Regions from separate parts of the Homo sapiens genome. Here region 2 is linked to region 1. Evidence: promoter capture Hi-C in 16 types of primary human blood cells and fetal thymus (Javierre and others, 2016). All regions are on one chromosome and are shown on one strand. The core of a region is centred on a gene start or on the middle of the fragment in contact, and the rest is flanking DNA. Distances in the headings are between cores, read along the strand shown.

Region 1 (7,962 bases), core at 2,025-4,524:
ACAACACACCCTTCAACTAAGCAGCATCATGGAGCACTTAACGGTGAGAAACAGAGCTGCTCATAGTAGAAACCTAACTGAACAAATTAGCTTTGAATTGTAACTTAAGAATCGTAGTCAAACCAAAGCGTCTGTCCTTGCCAGGAAAGGCATTCCAAAGGCAGAGAGCATGCCAAGTAAAAAGGCTTTGCTTCAGGATTATGGAGACAGTTCTGAAAAGCCAGCATAACTTAATGATCAATCAGAAAAATATAGAGCAGTAACTACACAACTGAAGGATGCATAAAAATTGTACAAAACGTTAATAGTGGAATGGGGAGGTAGGATGGGATTTTACGGGCAAGTATTAAGCTCTTGGAAAGCTTCATTTGTTGCCCTCAATCCACACAGCAGAAAGAAAGAGAAAGAGACAAACATGGTCAAAGAAAAGTATGTGGACAAATGTGGGGGGTAGAAAAGGAAATGAAGGTTAAGCAAGGCCAATATAATTCAGAATAAAAGGGAGGGAGGGAAGTATAAGGAGCCAGCTGTAATTACTGAATGTTACATTAAGAAGAGCTGAAATTGAGAGGGGGAGGTCTTGAGTATTTTACTAAGTGGATTAATGTCCTCTTCCTCGGGTGTCTGAAGTTGCAGATTTTAATTTATTTGGTGCAGGGATTTATTACAGAATTCTTAATGGGTGGGGAGATAAACAGGGACAATTATAAGCTCTTAAGAAGAAGAAAAGAGGACCATATAATACTTTCTATAAATTTAACTGTAATAAACAGGGTTTCAAGCTATGGACAAAGATAGTCAAAAAAAGCATTTATTCCATGATATAGGACTAAAAGGGAAATAAGAGGTGTGTCCAAAAAACTTAAAGACCAAAACAAAGAAAGAAAAACCCACATAGATGTGTGATGCCAGGATTTTGAATGACTTGGGAGCTAGTTATTGCCGCTCTCCTTTCTCCACCCATTTAAAAAAATAAATCATAACTCTGGCATTTAAAAACCTACTCATGAACATCATTTATTAATATAAACTTAATCCTGTGCTATTCTTTGGTGGGTGGTAAGAACATGAATTAACAACAACTGGACTAAAACGATGGCAACAGGATGATCCACTCAAACACAGGAAAGCTGTAAGAAAAAGAAAAACTCCTAATCTGCTCTTTCACCTTACTTATTTTACAGAAGGAGAAAGCCAAAAAGGGGAGAGCATGTGGCTAAACCACAGAAAGACTAGATGCCTAAAGGAAAAATTTTAAAGTGTTCCTAAATAGGTATTAGAAGGGGAAGGGGGATGTAAAGCTTATGTGATTTACATCATTTTGTTAATCTGCTAATCTACTTCCCTGGAAGGTGAGAAAGAGTGTTGTCTGCCTTCTGCAATTGAAGAGACTAGGGCAGAAACTTAATTATGTTCTTACCCTGTGTATACCTGGCTGTCATCTGGCTGGCAACTAGTCCACAAACTATTGGTTCAGGCATTTGCCTGGCAATAATGTTAGCCATCATTTAAATTGTTAAATATGGATCAGAAGATCTCTAAGAATTACTGATATGCAGCTATTAATACTGGATGTAAATAATATTATTTGGGGTGTGGGTAAATCATTTGACTGGAACCACATTTAAAAAAAGGACTTGGAAATTTTATTTTTGAAATGCTGTTGGGGAGATGGCATTGATGAAAAAAAAAATTGAAAATGGAAAAAAACATCATCTACAAAGAGATGGGTAAAAATGACTAAGCAAAGAAGCCTTGTCACCTTCGACCTGATGCTTCATTGTATCAGAAGAAAGTAAACAGATTGCTAACAAAGAGACCACCCCTTCTAATTTCCAAAACCGGCCCAGCAACAAGAGGGAGAAAATAGAGAAGAGTGCACTGCGTGGTGGCTCAGGGTGATCCTTTAATTTGAGTGTTAAAAATGAGGGCACAGACCTAGAGGTTTTTAATGGTCCGCGGGTGGACTTCAGATTCTGAACACTCCTCCACCTTCTGTGGAGAATTCGGGACACGGTGGAGTTTAACCAGTATCTTAAATCCCAGGGACAGGGTGGAGATTGCTTTGTGATCCTGATTAATTAAAAGGAAAGAAATCAAAGCAGACATCTCTCCTTTTTCCATTTGAGCCGCAGAGCCATGGAGGGGAACTTGTGCTCTCTGGTGCTTGCAGCTATGTTCCCTGGCTTTCATCGTCTTGGCTTTTCCCCTTGTATTTCTAATGCTGTGATACCAGGCCAATAAAATGGAATCTACAAAACTGCAAAACAAAATTGTGTGTATGTGTGTGTGTATTAGAATTTTACTGAAGATAATTGCAACACTTTAAGCACAAAATTTTTAACTTAAAATGTATGAGTAATGAAGTTTTAAGAAGCAAAATGTGCTCAAGCGGAGTATTTGTAGTCCCTTTTTTGTAAGAGGTTCCCCAGACCTCTGGGTGCATCAGCAAACTGTCCTACACGATGGAGCGTGCAGCTGCAATTTGGCCCCGGGCACCACCTATCCAGAGTTACTACCTAATGCATTTTACATTTGCACACATTGTCAAGGGGTGGGGGGCAGCTAAGAAGGGGCCTCCCCCCCACCCCCCAGCGTTCTGTTTCCTTTTGTCGCGGCCGTCAGCTGACACGTGGAAAATGTGGTGTACGGTTTTGTTTGCCTTTTATCTGTAATTAAGGATCCCTTGTCTGGGGCTTGCTACCTCTTTTCTTTCTGCCTCCCTGCCGCTCGGGTCTTCCGCCCTCGGTCAGGTCTGGCCTGGCGCACCGCAGCCTGGGGACTCCGGGTCGCCGGGCGGAGAAGCAGGCAGTGGGCGCAGGGACCTCCGCGGAGCCCGGCGCTCGCCTGCCGAGAGAGCGCACGCCCCGGCACGCCGGCCCCGGCTCGCCCGAGCCCCCGACCAGCTAGTGCCTTGCGTCGGGGCAGCTGCGCCCGCGTTGCCCAGAGCGGGTCGCCTTGCCGCGCGTCCGTTCCCTCCACACCGCTGCGCCTGAGCGGCCAGCGAGCCCGAGCTCCGGTCTGCGGCGGCGCCCGCCCTCGACGCCTAGCTCAGTCTCGTCCAGAGCGGTGGGGGGAGTTTTCTGCACCTTTCAGGCGCGGGAACATGTCGAGGGACGGGGGAGGACGTTGAGGTCACGAAGTCATCACCCACTCCTCTCGGCTGCGTGGGCGCTGCGGGAGCGCAGAGCCGGAGCACGAGGGGCTCGTCCCAGGGCGCGGGCCCCGCCAGCCCCTGGCGCTCCCACCCGCGCGCACTCCCTCGCACACCCGCGCTGGCACGCGCACCCTGGCGCGCGAACTCCCTGCCACGCGCGCGCTGTCACGCACACACACCGGCACGCACCCGCCACGCTCGCGCCGACACTCCCAGGCTGGCACACGCACACGCGGTGGGGACCCACCCCTGCCCGGGTTTGGCTGCGCCGGGCTCGCGTGCTCTCTCTCGGGCACCCCCGGGAAGGGAGCGCAGCTCGGTGGGCCGGCACCCTGTGCTTTATGCGTCTGAGGATTTCATTGAACTCGGTTCCCTGAGTCGGCCAGGCTCAGTCCTCAGCGAGGGAATACGATGAAGACGCACTAAGCAAAACCAGAAACACCGATGCCTACTACCTTTTCAAAAAACATAACTTGCCCTCAGCAATCCCGCGAAGGGGAGTGGGGATGGGCACGGGGACTCTCCGAAAGGGATTTTATCTACACAGTTTAGAATAACTCCTGTCTCTGGTATGTTCGGATATGTGATTTAAATCTCACCCCCCGGACGCTTTCTTTTTCACTTCACACCTGTATATTGAAATACAAACCTCATTTCTCCTCCTCACCACCAACTGGTTATTTAGGAGGAGTGGAGAAGAGGAGTTAAGCAATATTGGGGCAGGAGAATATTTAGAAGCATTACATTGATTTGTCACTCATTTGCTCTGATTAGCTTTTTGAAAACTTGTGAAGATATTCCTATTTTGAAGCTTGTATTTTGTTAAAAGCCTCCCTCACACTGCCGTGATTTATCATTATTTATCTGAGTATACACACGTATGTATAGGAGAAAAGGAATGCTGATCCTTCCTGATTTCAGCAGTGCCGTTTTCCTTTCTATCCATGTGGTTTTAGCATAATTTTCTCCCTCTTTCTCACCAATAGAGATATTATAGTACGCAAAAGCAGGGCACACCTGTGACCAAATACAAGCAACATTAGCCTGGAGTGTTTGCGAATACTCCTTGTCATCTGTCGCTCAAGATTTCCCCCCTCAGATTTGAAATATTCCCCAAACTGGTTTAAAGGTGTGAGCGGGTGGGTTAACACGTGAGAGCAGTCCAAAAGTAAAGCGAGGTTGGGAGAGGGTGGCCTACATAAACCAACTCTTGGAAGGCTGAACAAGAACGCATGGGAAGTGCATTAAGAAGAGACTGTAAACAATGATAATCAGGGCTTTCAAAAATCATAAAACGGATTGAAATATCTGATTCATTATTTATTCATCACAGCGCAACTTTGCGAATCTGAGAATAGTGTTTGGAAACCAAGTGCCTTCTATTTAGTACATCAAATCAGCAGATGGGTCTCCCTTCCAAACTGCGGCTAAAGGGTTAAAGCTATAATTTTAGAAAAGAATCTTAGGAAATGACACTCAGATCTAATATATTTCCTTTTCTTTCTGGCAATAATATCCCCCAAAGAATAAATATATACTTATTGATATCATGATAATGTTTCTCATTCTGAGTACAAGTGTCAGACTGATTCCCGTTTGTGTAAGTGTTTTTAAAACTGCGAGGACACTTTCGCTACTCTGAAAGCTGACGAGCCAATGAAGGGGAGCTTCTTTTAACTCCATAATAGCAGGTTACATAGTAAATGAACACTGATGGTCAAATAGCCAATTATGGTATAAATATCCGTTGTTTACAGAGAGGTGTTAAATGAGCCTTGGAGTACAAGGGATTAGGCCGATCTATGCTACAATTTGTTCTTCAACCCATTATGTCTTCCCTTTAAAAGGCCAGTGCCATTGTAGGTAGTACGCACACAGAACATACTTCTCTATGTTGATTTTAGTTTGCTTTATTTCGATGCACACTGTTGTTTACTTTTTAAAATTTAAATAAATGTCAGCATTGTATAATTTCTATGTTAACAAAGCAGTGAGCAAAATCCCTTGTATGTTTATAAAATATTATTGTTTAATTCACATAGTTTAGAAATTCCAAATGTTGAGAATAGGAAGGAGGCCAAATACCATCTGTTTATAACTATGATGCATCGTAATATGTGTACTTTTAAAAGGAGTTTGGTCAATCATGCCACTATTTTATCTGCTCGGAATATGTTGGAGATTTAAAATGTAATTTACAGGATTACTTTTAGTGCGTTGCATCCAACTGTGAGTTGTAAAGAAATCGGTCTCTTCTGTTTTTCTCAAATTAATCATGTAACAGCCCCAATTAATGGGGGCTGTTAAACGTGTCGCTTTTTGCTTAGCTCCAGAATTCTTCTAACTTTGGCTCAGTCCACCTTCTTGATGCTGATAAAAACTCCAAGGACAAATGAAACAAAACACTCCTAGCTGTGTCTTTCTGCCAGGAGATAGTCACTAAGAATGGCAGGCAGGATATGGTAGCTAATAATTAGCTAACATCAGCCCTGAGAAATTACCTGTGAAATACCCTTTGGTACTGAATTGAAAAACATCTGACACTCCCTGTTTTAAAATAGTATTTTCTTGTCCCCGAGACTTCTGATTTAACTTACCTTTTATTTCAAAGGCATCTAATTGCATACCATGTAACAAAGGGAGTATACTTACTTGCAATAGATGAGCAGGTTTTTGTTTTTGTTTTTAGTTACAAACTCAAGTTATTCAGTTAGGAACTCTCCCTTGCTTTGCAAATCAGGGAATCTCAGCAACTGGGCCTTCAATTCCAGGCAGCCATAGTTTTAAATCCAGAGGTGGTTTTAGAGTGTCACACCATGGGGTCTCTTTTTCAAGAAGGAGGAAGTGAAGATGAGCTCAGATGTCTTGAAAAAGGTTTGAAAGCTGTGATAAAAACATTTATTAGCAAATGATGGTTGCTTGATTGATTTTTTAACAAGGTAGAATCAGTAAAAAGCTACATCTTGAAATGCTTTTATAAACACATGCAGAAATATGAAAACAAACTCCCAATAAACTGGGCATGTTCTGGATGTTTTACTTCTCAGTTGAGTGTTCAATGAAAAAATGGTGCTGTATAAAGTGGTTTCTCTGTACTATTTAGCAATATCTGTTTTCTCAAACATTTTAGTTTTAGCAGCTTCATCTAAAATTGTACCAACCTAGATTATGTACTCATACATAATTAAGAACATTAAGAATACCTTCTCTAAGTAAACAAACTGACCCATTATACTTTTTTTTTTTCAATCTAAATGTTATATTTTGAAAGTCTATTTGTTTTCTTTCTGGTCAGATTTTTTTCCCCCAAAAATGAATCCATTGGCTTTTTATGTTATCAAGATATGCTTAAGCTTGTTTTTCTTTGGGTTACAATAAGAAAATGCCAGACTCCTTTTTCCTACGTAATTGCTCAAGTGTGTACAGAGTATAAGAGTGAATCCAAAAAATAATAATAATGTTAGGGATAAAGAGGAAGGAGATTGGAAAAAGTGGAGGGGGAAGGGAGGTAAGAATAGCAGAAGATAGAACTGGGATAAAAGAGGTTTATCAGACAAAGCTTTCCAAATTGCTTGGAGGAGATAAGACATAATCATTACAAGCATCATCATTTCCAAATCAAACCTAGATTTTTGCATTCAGATATTAAACAACTAGGGGAAACTTTTAAGTAAACCTTTGTGATACATGTGAACTAGTTTTTTTATTCAAGCCCAGCATTCTTAAGTGAAGCAAGTACTAAAAGATATCCATATTCCCATTGTGGGAGACAGAGAAGTAGAGGCATTTTCTGTGTTTAAGGCATTTACAATATAGAAATAAGCCATAAATACATAAAATGAACAAGACTATGTATAATGCACTCTTATATTTTGCCTATTGTAAGTGCAAAAATAATGATGATTTTCAGTGGAGGAATTATTCGACATGCTTTCCTACTGATACTTTATCTAGCAGTTCATTTCTAGGCAAGTTAAACAAGGCTTAAAATGAATAAACTCTTCGGAACTCCTCTAGTCTAATAAATTGCAGTAGATAATCAAGATTGAAATTGGCATGTAGGTGTGCATATCATGTTCCCTTTAGAACCGACTTAGAGCCATAGCAGTGACCCACAGTGTGCACATAAGTCATTGCTATAGTCCCGTTATCTTGACAGCCAAATCATTTTATAAAATATACTTTAATAAGTTACTATTGAGCCCTGAAGTAAAACCATATAACTTAACCATTACTGAGTGGCCATTTATAGGTATTATATTTAAATCGGATAAAAGATAAAAGAAAGGAATTAAGAATAAGAAAAATGTATGGGAAACTATTTGCTTCTTGCGATTAATCTAAAGCATGCCAGAAGTATCTTTTCATTTTGCTTTTTATGAAGAATTATTGACCCTAAGAAAAGTCATTTGAGGACTGCAGGTAAACAAACAATAAAAACAACAACAACAAAAATATTGCTTTTTTAAGGAGAGAATACAGAAAGTAGTAAACTCATGCATTTTAAACATTAAGAAGAAAAGACATAAAATTTAACACACACAATAAATAATAAATATTCTTCAGTTTCATCTGATGGCTAATGAAGGGAAAAGCTCCTGGAAAATTTGGAAGGAGAGATGAATGTAACAAGGTAATTAACTCTTTGCTCCTTTAGCCATAGAAAAGAGCGAGTAGAGTAAGATTTCTTTTAAGTTTAGATCTGCAGCAACCACAGAGATCAAATCGGCCTCTACAAAATAAATAAAAGGATTCCCACTAGCTCTCCAACTCAAGCTCCAGTCTTGTTGTTGGCCCCCCACCCC
Region 2 (7,962 bases), core at 3,069-5,568, 390 kb before region 1:
TGCTTTGTGATTTTTAATTACTCAATGTGACTCTCCTCGTGTAAATGGGACCGCGAATATGCAATTATTGAATACTCAAACTGCATCAGAAGTGTGTGGAGTAGTCAGAACCGAAAGGACGGGAAAAATGGAGATAAAGGAAAGCATGAGCCTTGCCAGGAGGGAATCGAGGAGGTCCAGAAGGAGGGATATTAAGAGGCATTGGCAAAGCAGCTGTGGAGGAGCTCCGGGCTGCAGAGCAGGTAGAGGTGTCGGCAAGGGAGCCAGGAACCCGCACAGGGGCCCTGAGGCTCTAGTAGGCCGGGGAGTGGACCAGGAAAGGAGATGCAACGGGCCGGCTGGAAAACTGCACGGGGAATCCGAGGTCGACCTAATGAACAGCACAGACCTTCCAGAAGGAAAGAGAAGGTGACTATGCGAGCTTAGAACAGGACTAGGAGGTTGGGGAAAGAGTACGAAAAAGCTGAAAGGGCGGACAGGGTGCTGACGAGATGGGAAAGGGCGCACAGGGAGGTGGGGAGCAGTGCGAGGCCGGGGGACAGTGGGCAGGTGCGAGGAGCCGAGCCCGCGGGCTGGGGCGGAGCGATTCGCGCGGGCGGGAGCGCCGCTGACTCAGGGACCTCGCGCCAGCGGAGTCCGGGCGGCGCAGAGAGGCGGAGCCTCGATTGCGCGGGCGGGCCGAGGGGCGGGACCAGCGCCTGACGCGCCCGGAGGCCGAGGCGGCCGCGGGCCGGGAGGGGCGGCGGCATCCGCGGCGGCCGCGGGGGAGGGGCACGGCGTCAGCGCGTCGCCGGCTGGGCCGCGCCGGTGGCCAGGAGGGAGAGACAAGGAGGAGGAGGAGGAGGAGGTGAGTAGGCTCCGGGCTGGGGAGCCGCGCGGGCCAGCGGGGAGGCGGGGAGCGCGGCCCCTCCCCTCCCCTCCCCGGCGCCCGCCTCGCGGGGCCGCGCTGCGCGGAGATCCCAGAGGGGCAGCAGCGGCGGCTGCGGCGCGGGGAGCCGGGGGCGGGGGGTGTGGGGGAGGCGGAGCTGAGAGCCGCGCGCTTCCCGGGCGCACGCGCTGCGCTCCCTGCGCCGCCGTCCGCACCGCGCTCGGAATGGGGCGTCACGCCGTGGCATTTTGTGCCTTCTGCAAACTGGTCGTGTTCGAATTGCGTTTTTTTGGTGCCTACATGTCGTGCGTGCTGGTTTTCTGCGGCCCGGCGCTCCGCTTCTTCCTCGCGCAGGCTGAGAGGACGGGTGGGGGCACGTCGCCCTCGCGCGGGAGAAGGGAGGCCGGGCGTCCGGGTTGGCCTGAGTTGGCTGGGGTGCTTCGCCGACCACCAGGCTGCCCGGCGCTTGGCCCCTTGCAGTGCGAGCCCCAGGCCTTCCTGACGGAAAGCTTCGCTTCTGGCTCCTAGTCGCCCTCAGTTACCAGACCTCCCCAGCGCCCCACTCCTCTCTGCCAGCCGAGTGTGAAGACCCTCACTGTGCCCCCCACCCCGGAATCCCTCGTCTGAGGATTAAGCACATAACTTCCCATTTTCATCGGGATCCAGACAATCCCATTCTGTCCAGGTGGAAAGATTCTCTGAATTTAAGTCTTGGGAATGCAGCAGCGAAATTTAACCTTTAGTCCCGAAGTAGTTTTTTTGCCTTCTCTCGCACATACAACTTTTAGAGTCTTCTGACAACTGTGCTGCTTTAGGTTATCTTGAGATTCTTAAGTTAATGCCTTGAGGCCGTGTGATGGGAGTTTCAAAGAGAAGGCTTTTACAGCTTTTCTTCCACCTGTATCGCAGTTTGAAATGGAAAACGTGAGTTGATGATGATTTTCCATACGAGATGGATTTCAGTTTGCAGCCCCGGCTGCCGTGGCTCACTTGGTTATTTGGTGCCTACCCCTGAAGTTGATTTTAAAGCTTAAAATAGTGGTTAGGTAAAGGAGCTGCTGAAAAAGAAGTTCAGTACAATTCAATAGAGCCATTCTATTGGCTTCTATTAACGTGTTTAACCTTAAGCTTTAACCATGACAGGAGTTTCATGTAGGAACCCACATACCAAGTGAAATATTGAATTTTAATTAGTGCGTTCCAGGTCTGACTTGGATTAGATTCTTCTCGGCTCCCACTCCCTTTTGGTATACATTTTCCTTAGGGTCCTGTACTGTATTTAATGAAACAGTTTTAGTATTGAGGATTAGAGGAGTACCTCTTGAATCACGAAACTTTCTTTGACATGCTTGAAAACAATGAATAGGTAAAATCTGAAGCATGATACTTGCAATAAGGTAGGAAATAGTAAATTTTTTAACATCACCAGTTTGCAAAGGTTAAGATGGCTTCTTTAGTCTTGATTTGAAAATTGTGTTGGCATTTTAATCTTATGCATCACAGAAATACAGAATTTTCGATGTTTAAGGAACATTAACAGTATAATCCAATCCCATTATTTTATAGAGAAATTAAGAATCGAAGACAGTTTCTTGATGAGATTTAGCAGGAGCTGAATAGAACTAGTAGTCTTCATTAACTAAACACTTAACTAGGTAATTCAGACCTCTTGTACTAAAGTTTGTTTGATTATGGTACTAAAGTTTGTTTGATTATGGTATCTTAAAAAGCCAAGTAATTAAATGAAATTTTTTTCCTTAATTTATGATTTGGACCCATTAGATTAAAATGCCATGAATTGTACATAGTTAGGAAGTATTTACATTCTGTGAGTTTAAACATTACTTTCCAGTGTTTTTGAATTAGCAATTATCTTGCGCTTCAAGAATCGATTCATATTTTTGATTCGGATAGCCTACGTCACTTCCAGCAGATTGGTATTTTAAGAGTCTTAGAGTTATGGTGTATATAAACCGTGGTTTAGTCATGTGTCATTTAATGACAGGTATGTTCTGAGAAATGTGTACTTGTGGGAGCATCATAGAATGTACTCACACAAACCTACATGGTATAGCCTACTTCACACCTAGGCTATATGGTATATAGCTTATTAGTCCTGGGCTACATCCCTGTTCAGCATGTTACCGTACTGAATACTGTGCCTAAACACACCTAAACTTAGAAAGGGTACAGTAAAAATACGGTATTATAATCTTATGGGACCACAGTTGTATATTCGATGTTTTGTTGACTGAAATGTCATGTGATGCATGACTATCACTTAGGAAGGGAAATCCTATCACATGTAATAATCTAATTCCAGCACGCCCAATCTCGCATTTCAAAGTGGACCTCAAGTGCATGAGTCCTGAAGTTCTTGCTGTGGTGCGATGAATTTTTTACATCCCAGAGTACAGTGTTTAGTGTAGACATTTAGTAAATACTTGTTGGCCTGTGCGCACTTTCCTGGTAGGCGCTTCGTGAAAGTTCGGCTATGTCCTACTCATCTGTGTATACCTGTTATCATGTGTAGTGGGTACTCTTTAAATGCTTATGATCTTGTTGGGCTTAATCTAATTTTTGAAGGTAGCAGAGTGCCTGGAAGTCCTGAATCATGATATAGTAAACTTGAACTAACTCAGTTCCTTTTTTGTGTTGAACCAGGTACGCTGTTAGGTTGAATTCCAATATTGAAAGAGGTAGCAGGTGTCAGATACTTTAGAAAAATTGGGAGAAGAAACTTCACACTGCTAATTTTGTTCTGTAACTTATGTTAGTCACTCTGATATTGGGAAAGAACATTATTTTAGTAATAGAACACCTTAGGTGAGCTAAAATAATACAATGTTTCCATGAGAGCAAAGTGTGACAACCTGAATTGAGTGACCCTCTGACTGTTACCATAGGCCACGTTTTACAATTTTGGTTTTATTTTATAAGGATATGTTTTTCAGCATATAGACCTTTATAAGGAACGTAACTTTACTTCAGAGTTTGGACTACCTTGGCAAATTGTCCCAAATGATATTTTAAATAGTTTTAGGTTGTATTTGATATGTTATGCTTCTTGTTGGTATTACATGAAGAACACTGTGTATTCTTTTACTTATATTCTTACCTCTTCTTTTTTTTTTAATATCAGAATAATAGCATGTTTTTTATTTTTATTTTTTTTTGAGGCAGAGTCACACTCTGTCACCCGGGCTGGATTGCAATGGTGTGATAGCAGCTCACTGCAGCCTCCGCCTCTCTGGTTCAAGTGGTTTCCTGCCTCAGCCTCCTGAGTAGCTGGGATTACAGGAATGCGCCACCATGCCTAGGTAATATTTTTTGTGTTTTTAGTACTGATGGGGTTTCACCATGTTGGCCAAGCTGGTCTCGATCGCCCGCCTTGGCTTCCCAAAGTGTTGGGATTATAAACGTGAGCCTCTGTGCCCTGCCTGGTTATTTTTTAAAAAAAAACTGAGGAAAATTTTCAAGTATTTCTCTTGGAAGTACAAACCAACACTCCATTCTTTGAATCTCCGGAGTAAAATTTGGGCTGAGCAGATGCAGAGCCAATTCCATAGGCTGATTCCTAGTTGAACATGTAGAGTCATAGAGGTAATAGCTTTCATAGGGACGTCTTTGAACTACTTTCTTTTTTTTTCTTTCTACTAATATTACTGAAAGCAGTTGTACGGTAGAGTAGGATGGTGTTTAATTTATAGGAAGCAAATCAGCTCACATCTGTAATTGCTGGTTCTGATGTCAGTCCTAGTCTGCCTGGCCTACTCACTGCCAGATCAGTTTCTTCTATTCAGACCGAAGATATTTTAAGACCTCTGTCACCTACAACGGGAAGGATCTGGAATTATTCTGGTGCCCTGAGCATCCATTGCTCACAAAGGTATGCTGTCTCACTATATCCTTTGGATGTACTCAGTTTGCCTGCAAGATTTTCATTTTTAAAGCACTTTTCTCATAAGGAGTTTTGAAATAATGACAAACACCTTAACTAAGTGTGTGTGAGGCATCTAGAATATTTCAAAATAGTTATAGATGGAGTTAGGATATAGAATCAGACAATTAGTAAGAATATCTAGTGCTTTTCCCCTATGCTGTGTAGGATCACACAAGTCATTTAAACAGACGATAATTTTTTTTGAGTGTTTAAAAAATAACCAGAGCCAGATGTGGTGGCTCATGCTTGTAATCTCAGCACTTTGGGAGGCCAAGACTGGTGGATCACCTGAGGTAAGGAGTTCGAGACCAACATGGCCAACATGGTGAAACCCCATCTCTACTAAAAATACAAAAATTAACCGGGCATGGTGGCACGTGCCTGCATTCCCAGCTACTCGGAGGCTGAGGCAGGAGAATGGCTTGAACCTGGGCGGTGGAGGTTGCAGTGAGCCGAGATGGCACCACTGCACGCCGGCCTGGGTGACAGAGTGGGACTCCATCTCCAAAATAAATAAATAAATAAATAACCAGAGAAGCAATTCCACAGTCTTTTCTTAGTAACTTATAAATAGTCCATAGAATTTATGTTTCTTGGGTGGTTTATTTTTGTATTCCAGGTCCTTTGTGGAACTGGAACCTTGTCTTAAGCATGTTTAGGCATCCTAACAGCTTGATCTCCCTCTCCTTGCTATCTCCCCTACCTTTAGGGGGCTGGGACCTATTCTTATCCATAGGTAGGTGGTTGGGGTCTTGCAGAGCCAAGATCCTGTGATACTGTTTTCTGGACTCACATCACCAGATTGACCCTTTAGATACTGAGATCTAGGCTCCATGGCTGCTATAATTTGAACTTTTTTGAGGGTCAGCTTTTCATTTGCATGAGGGACTCTAGGACACCCTGGATTCATCCAGTCATGAGTTAGAACGCCTTTCCTGACTAGCCAGCTGTTGGATTCTTTGCTTTCTTAGTGGAGACACTTAAGGATGTCTCCCATAAATCGGTGATTTTTATGCAGTTCAATGGTAGCTCGTTATTTTTCAAGTGTTTAATTTTCTGCCTTTTTCTTCTCTTAGTTTTGAGCTTTCATTTGTTCAGGTATTGGGGTTCTCACCACCCCGTGTTTAGGTTCTATTAATTTGCTGGAGTGACAGAACTCAGGGAAACACATTTACTTGTTTATTATAATGGATATTGCAAAGGCAAACAGATGAAGAGACGTGTGGGGTGGGGTATGGGGGAAGGGGTGCAGACCTTCCATGTGATCTCTGAGTGCATCTCTCTCCAGGAACCTCCATGTGTTCAGTTACCTGGAAGCTCTCTGAACTCAGTTCTTTTGGGTTTTTGTGAAAACTTTATGACAGCATTCCTTCCTCCAGGGTATAGAATGGGATCCTCTGTGGGTTGGGGGCAGGGCGTGTCTGTCTTGGGGCAGGAGAAGGTCAGAGGCTTTCCCTGAGGCCTAACACACCCACGTCGTAGCAAAAGACTGGATCAAGGGCTGTGGTAGTTATGAGCCAGGAACCATGCATGGAATCTTCCTCTCTCTCTCATCTTGCTCTCTCTCTGTGTGGTATATATAAAATAACATCACAGGTATCTATTACACATTCCTCAAGCAAGGTCATTATCTGTCTTTACATCTAGATCATGTGTACCCCAGGGTTGGAACTGAATCTGTCCAGTTCCCTGGAGGTGTCCTTAGCACTCAGTACATATAGCAGGTGATACATATAGATTAGATATAAATTTCTCCCAACAATAAGTTCTGTTATCAGTGTGGGAAGCCAGTGTTCATATAGAAGTTTAAAATTAATTCAAGAAGCTTAGACGTTTCATTGCCATCGTTAGTACTGGAGAGTCTGTGTTTTTTTTTTTTTTTTTTTTTGAGATGGAGTCTCACTCTGTTGCCCAGGCTGGAGTGCAGTGGCGCAATCTCGGCTCACTGCAAGCTCCACCTCCCGGGTTCACGCCATTCTCCTGCCTCAGCCTCCCGAGTAGCTGGGACTACAGGCACCCACCACCATGCCCGGCTTATTTTTTGTAGTTTTAGTAGAGACGGGGTTTCACCGTGTTAGCCAGGATGGTCTCAATCTACTGACCTCATGATCCGCCCGCCTCACCCTCCCAAAGTGCTGGGATTACAGGCGTGAGCCACCGTTCCTGGCTGAGTCTGTGTATTTTAAATTGTAGGCATATCCATGTAAAAAATGGCATCAGTCACCTGACAGGACATTTAATTAAGAAGAAAAGTTATATAATTTTCACTATGTTGCCTTGTAAGGCATTGGAGATTTCAGTTTTTCATGAATTTGATTAATATGTATATATTTCTTACAATTAGTTTTATTATGAAGAAGTGAGTTTAATGGCCCTATTTTTGTTCATTAGTAATTGTATACTAAAGAGTAAATTCTCATTAAAAGGCCTTTAAATGCCTGCTCATAAAGAAGACAGACCTCTGATTTTGTTCTCTATACAATCCCAGTTATTGTTTTGAGGCAAGTCATCAAACTCTTTAGTAGTCTAAACCTTTAATTTGGTTTCAGAACAGTAGTCATGTATTGAACACCCAAATTACCATGTCTGTAACAAGTAATGCAAACACTCCGTATTAAAAATGCAATGACTGCAACTGTTTTTGTAAAATTTCTTGTGCTAATTTTTTAAAGAGGACTTTTGAATTAAGTTTCTCATGAAGGCCAAAATCTTATACTTTTAATGGTAGTGGAGTGTGTGTATATGTGTAGAGGCGAGGGGGTGGTAATTTTTGCAGTGGTATTTTTAAGTGGACAGTTTACTAATTATGTTGAGGTAAACACTTTACAACTCTAAAAGGAAAACTTCAATTATCTGAATGAAATGAGGTACATGAAATTAATTCAGATAAGTGGGGGAATCTTTGGTGTAAATGATGCATGTCAAGGTACATGACCTCAATCTTGATTTTTTTTTTTTCCTTTTTTCTTTTTCTATATATCTGTTAGCTGCTTACGAGATTGTGATTCTTTTAGGTCATGTTAGGAATCATTGATGGGGGAGGCAAAGTTGCTCTATAGTTTTGTTTTTTCTTTGCTACACAGGAATCCAGAGTGTGGTATTCTGTGACGAGTATAATTGCTCATCTCTCCCCTGCACTGCCTGCTGTTTT

Evidence for each region. Contacts are between HindIII fragments. The CHiCAGO score rates a contact against its expected background, and 5 or more counts as called.
Region 2: a fragment that was not itself captured here is called in contact with the fragment with the promoter of QTMAN-AS1 in region 1 in 3 of 17 cell types (megakaryocytes, M0 macrophages and M2 macrophages); the score reaches 5.5 in megakaryocytes.

Annotation. Positions count from the first base shown.
Region 1 is chr2:143,932,379-143,940,340 of GRCh38, reverse strand. It overlaps QTMAN-AS1 (QTMAN antisense RNA 1), which reads right to left and starts at 3,274. Exons shown (of 3, transcript NR_110237.1): 1 at 2,705-3,274. It overlaps QTMAN (queuosine-tRNA mannosyltransferase), which reads left to right. Exons shown (of 12, transcript NM_001376312.2): 12 at 1-2,273. RefSeq lists a silencer at 2,773-2,972 and an enhancer at 3,167-3,850. The HindIII fragment of the contact is 2,667 bases long and covers 1,304-3,970 here.
Region 2 is chr2:144,325,324-144,333,285 of GRCh38, reverse strand. It overlaps QTMAN (queuosine-tRNA mannosyltransferase), which reads left to right and starts at 774. Exons shown (of 12, transcript NM_001376312.2): 1 at 774-847. RefSeq lists an enhancer at 141-718 and a silencer at 500-1,099. The HindIII fragment of the contact is 4,640 bases long and covers 1,999-6,638 here.